Linked DNA regions of Homo sapiens: region 2 is linked to region 1. The links are contacts of gene promoters, found by promoter capture Hi-C in human tissues and cell types (Jung and others, 2019). All regions are on one chromosome and are shown on one strand. Each heading gives the region's core, a stretch centred on a gene start or on the middle of the fragment in contact. The rest is flanking DNA. Distances are from core to core; before and after follow the strand shown.

Region 1 (2,603 bases), core at 73-2,572:
ACTTTAGGATTAGAGGTAATTCCGAACCATTACATACACAGCACTGGATCTGCAACACACTTCACCTTAGTTCGCAGTTTAACCACGGGTGTCCAGTGGAAATTACAATCCCGGTGACTACACTGCTTTAAATGTTTCCTAAGGTTTCAACGAGTGCAACAGTAACTTCCTATCCCAGACAGCGTCTTACTGTTATTACTAAAACAGCTGTCAGCTAAGCTTCGCATACCTCTTTGTACAACCGTTTATTCAACGCTTTGGGATCTGTAAGGATGCGTCACTCCACATCACTCCTCAAAACGAGATCTAAGAACCTGACGTGCTCCAGGGGTCTTGAAGCATCACAAGTGGGTACTTGAAAAACGATGACGGGAACTGCCTGTCCAATGCGGCAAGGTTATTTTACACTGGCATTTAAGACAGAACTGTAGAGTGGCTGCTCTTTCCCCGGACACTACTAAAGCAGCAATTTCCCCTTCTTGATTTCATCCACCTCTCCCAGGACCCGGGTACCTCCGACGCTCCCGGCCCGAGCGGCCGCGGCAGACTCCCCGGCGTCGGCGCACGCTCGGCGGCTGGCGGCGGGAACGCGCGGCGGGCCGGGCGCGCCCCCGCCCCCGCGGGTCCGACCGCCGCACGCCAGCGGCGCCCTCTCGGCCGCGCACACTCACACTCGCACGCACACGCTCCTCCGGCCCCGCCATGTTCCGGGAGGCGGCGGCAGCCCAGCCCCGCCAGCCGCGGTGAGGGGCGCCCGCGACGAGGCCAGCTCGCGGCCCTCCGCCCGGCCCCCGCCCCGCCCCGCGCAGCGCCCCCGCCCAGTTGGCGGCTCCCACCTGCGCCGCGGCTCCTCGCGACGCCGGGAGGGGCGGCGGCGGGCGGGGCCCCGGCGGACCCGCGCCGGGGGGCACTAACGGCCTGTCACTGTCAGGCGAGCTACGGCTCGGGCCAGGCTGGGCGGGCGGCGCGTCGGGACCGGGGGGGGCGGGCAGGGCGCGTCCCCTACCTTGCTCTGGGGAGGGGGAACGGGAGCAGCGCAGAACTGAGGGGATCTCCTCCCTGGCGCCGGGGACAAGCTCGAAACCGCGCCCCTCCTTCCTCCTTTCCTGTCGCCACGCCCCCCTCACCCGTACGGACCCGAGGCAAGGCCGGCGCAGGAGGCTTCACCCCCGGAACGAGTGCTTCGGCGTAGCCGTCGCTGTCGTTGTCTTCGTCGCCGCTGCAGCCGCCTGTAAAGCCGCCGGAGCCGGGCTTGAAAACATCTCCGGTCTCGGTCCGTCTCTCACCACAGCCTCCTCGCTCCCAGGACAGCGTCGCCCCGCGATTGGCTGCGACGCGAGCACGTGACACCCGCGGACACGTGACTACCGCGGGCACGGGACGGGCGGCGTGACCGCCCCGCCCCCCGGCGCCCGCCCCTCCTGCTGCTCAGCCAGGCTCCGCGAGCCGCAGGGCGGGGAAGCGGGACGTACCAAGCGGCAGGCGGCGGAGGGGTGCGGGCCGGAACTCCGCCCTTCGTGCTGGTCGGTCTCCACGCCCCACTCGGACTAGTGTCACCGCCTCCCCGCCGCAGACACTATCCGACAAAGGAGGGGGAATCAAAGGCTGGGCGAAGAGGCAGGGCAGGCGCCGGTGACGCTGCTGGGCAAGCGGGCTCTGCAGTAGCATTTGTGGCGACCGTGGCAGTGGCTGTGACTGGAAGCTTCTGGAAATGGCGGCGATGAGGACCCCCACATAGGGTATTCACCTGTTATTTTTACACGGGGTGGGTGGACGAGCGTGATCCAACTCAGGCAAAATGACGCTGCGACCGCAGCCCGAGGACTAGGCGAAGTTCCCCCGCTAAGCCGGCGGCGGCCGTCTGGCCCCGCACCAGGCCGGAGAAGCTGCACCTACGCCCAGAGCCCGCGGCCCCCCGCCTCAGGTGGGGCCCTGGGCCCCGCCCCGAAAGCGCGGTAGCGTGCACCTGCCCTGGCACCAGGGGGTCTAGAGCGCGTCCCCTCCCAGCCACGCCTTCCAGTGGCCTTTTTAAAGAGGAATTCAGTGCACCCTCCCACACGTAGTGTTGGGGATTTGAGAGGGAGCTGCTCAGGTACTAGGAAGGGTGCCGGAGGAAAATTGACCGTCGCAGCGTGGCAGCAGCGTGTACTCACTCCCTTCTGGGCGCGTTATTTACGTAGAGGTTAATCTGCAACAACAGCGTCTGTTTATGACTTAGTGCATGCAGTTACAAGTTTATGTTACACTGTCCTTTAACGTCTTGATGAACTGAGGGTTCAGGTGTGATCACAGCAGATGAAGTGACATTCAGACCTGACAGGGACGGCGAGGTCCCATCAAATTACTATGTAAAGCATAAACCTGCATTAAAGATCAGGAGTTTTTCCTTTCCTGGGTTCCTGATTTCTCCCACCTACAAATCTTTAGGGTCAACAAGACTAGAAAAAGAGCACCTTATGGCTAGAGGTGGAATAGTGTTACATTTAACTTGGTTATTTATGATGTGAAATACAAAGAAAAAAACAGTCGCCTATGAGAAAGTCAGGAGAGCTCCAGGGTAGGACATTTTCATTGTTACTTTTTTGTGCCACTTGGAAAATTAA
Region 2 (2,603 bases), core at 44-2,543, 520 kb before region 1:
GCAAGAACACTTTTAAAGGTGTGATACACAATGCCCAACAGTTATAACTATTTATTGACCCCACCAGGAATGTGCACAGACAGACCCACAGTGCCTCTAGGACTCCCTGTTATGTTTTATGTATTTGAATTAGCGAACAGTTACATTTTATTATTTTTGTTTGACTTGTACTTCTTTCATTACTAGTGACGTTGGGCATTTTCCTATTTATAAATTAAGAATTACCTATTTGTCTCCTTTATTAATGTGTGTATTACTACAGTCATCATTTTTTCTATTAACTTTATGAGCCCTTTAGATAATTACAGTGAATTCTAGGGTGAGCCACCCAGACCCCCCTTGAAGATGGATGCTGTCATTCTCACAGCTGCCAGGAGGATGAGCTGCTGACTTTTGCAACTGCTTCCCTCTCTGCAGATGCCTTCAGGAAAGGGAGCTGCCTTGCCCATGGTTAGGCTCCCAATCAGGGGCCACCCAAAGATCCATCCAGTGGAACACCAACCCCCTTGCCTTAGTTTGGGATGATTCTGAAAGACAAGCTGAGGCCTCAGTCACTCTTGCGTCCCAGGCCAGCTTTGCTCTCTGCTCAGTCCTGCAGCCCTCACTGCCTCACAGATACTGTTTCTAGAACCCTCCCTAATAAACTTCTTGTGTGCAAAGCTTCATCTGAGGTGGTTTCCAGGGAACCTGATCTAAGACAATTGATCATTTCTCATTGACTTTTCATTACTTCCCAGCCATTTTTTTTGCAAATATTGAATTTCAAAATATCATGCAAACACATCTGTATTATTTCTATGTGATTTCTTCTAAACTTAAAAGATGCCACCCCCAACACACACACCAGTGGTTTCACTAATACTCAGTTGTATTCTCTTCTAGCTTTTCGTTTTTGTCTTTTTCTTTTTTTTTTTTCTTTTTCACAGATTCTTCTGGCTTTTCTATGGTTGCCATTTTATTCTTGGCTTCTAATTCTAATGAAATTCATTTTTAGTGAAGGATTTGAAGCAAATGAGTAAATGCCATTTGTTGACGATGTCTCTCTCGTATCATTCATTTGCAATGCCTATCCTTCATTATATATTAAATGGAGGCAATGTTCTCACCATATTCTGCAGCTGTAAGTAGACAGCTGAGAAACCACTGCTTCAAAATGATTTCTGAAGCTGTCCACAATCTCCTCCATGTGTGTGGGCTTTTCAAATGTTCCTGCCCAGGCAGTGGAGACTTTGGGCCAAGCTCTGGCCTCTTTTCCCCATCAGCACAGCCCAGCACGTCACCATGTTTAAGATGAAGCCTGGATCCCAACGCTGAATGAACCTCACTGATTTCCTAGGAAAATTGCCCATACATTAGTGAGCTGGTAACTTTGCCCCCAGTACCAAATGGATCTTTATAGTCAACATTGATGTCCACATGGATAGCCAGATTGCCAAGAAAACATTCACAATTACCTTCCTTCCTTCCTTCCTTCCTTCCCTCCTTCCTTCCTTCGTTTTTATTTTGAGACAGGGCCTGCTCAGTCGCCCAGGCTGGAGTGCATTGGCACAATCACGGGCTCACTGCGGCCTTGATCTTCCAGGCTCCAGCAATCCTCCCACCTCAGCCTCCTGAGTAGCTGGGACTACAGGCATGTGCCACCATGCCTGGCTAATTTAAAAAAAAAATGTTTTTATAGAGACAAAGTCCCACTATGCCGCCCAGGCTGGTCATGAACTCCTGGCCTCAAGCAATCCTGCTGCCTCGGCCTCCCAAAATGTTGGGACTACAGGCTTGAGCCACCATGCCTGGCTTATGCTTCTTAATTAAATCAAATATTATAAATGAAAAATAGAAAAAAAGAGTGTTAAGGTCAGGGTTTCCTCGTCCAATAAGCACGCTTTTTGTATGAATAATATACTCTTAGTTCAGTCAGCACTTCCGTTTTGCCAGGCAGGCAGGAGGCTTACTTCAAAACCTCCCAGTGTATTTGGTGCCAACAAGAATTTTTTATTCAGTTCTGTCTTCACAGCCTCAGCCAATGGGTACGTTTACATGTGTGCATTTTTTCCCCATCAGTGTTCATGAGAAATCTATTTATAACTTTTCCCAAACTAGAATTTCTGAACAGATTTGGGTGGAATTCACACATTTAAAGCTTAGGTGCGGTGCGAACAGCCCGCGTAACCAAGCAAGGGGCCGTAAAACTCAAAGACTTTGGTGTCCGCAAAGCTCCTCCATGCTCTAGGAGCCGTGCACGCCTGCGCAGCCCATCCTCCTCCTGGGCTGGGGCTCTGGGCTCTGAGGGTGCAGTGCACTGGAGTGTGGGGTCTCGTCTTTACAGTGTCTCCAGTGAGTGGATACAGTACTGCTTTGGCCCGCTCTGAAGGGGTCTCCCCCAGCATGCGGACAGAAAGGTGGAAGCACTTCCTGACTCCGGCTCCTCCGGACCCCGAGTGCACTCGTGCACGCCACACTCACCTCTTCATCTCAGGGTCCCCAGCGCTGCAGCCCATGAGTTGGAGGCATTAAGGGAGGGTGATGAGGCCAGCGGTCTGGGCTTTCTCTTCTCACCAGTGCACCCCTGTGTGTCCTACTAGAGAGCCTGCTTTGCTGCCCCAACT

What was found. Contacts are between HindIII fragments. The study calls those that stand out against the background at their distance.
Region 2: a fragment that was not itself captured here is called in contact with the fragment with the promoter of ANKRD12 in region 1 in 1 of the 25 tissues and cell types used here (lymphoblastoid cells).

The regions. Positions count from the first base shown.
Region 1 is chr18:9,135,500-9,138,102 of GRCh38, reverse strand. ANKRD12 (ankyrin repeat domain 12) reads right to left here and starts at 1,322. Exons shown (of 13, transcript NM_015208.5): 1 at 1,138-1,322. NDUFV2-AS1 (NDUFV2 antisense RNA 1) reads left to right here and starts at 1,383. Exons shown (of 3, transcript NR_110772.1): 1 at 1,383-1,739. RefSeq lists silencers at 555-604, 645-1,044, 1,255-1,604, 1,955-2,044, 2,047-2,220 and enhancers at 1,175-1,224, 1,715-1,764. The HindIII fragment of the contact is 7,523 bases long and covers 962-2,603 here.
Region 2 is chr18:9,659,566-9,662,168 of GRCh38, reverse strand. No RefSeq gene overlaps it. Among named protein-coding and RNA genes, the nearest start is that of LINC02856, 15 kb to the right of the region's middle. The HindIII fragment of the contact is 3,341 bases long and covers 1-2,603 here.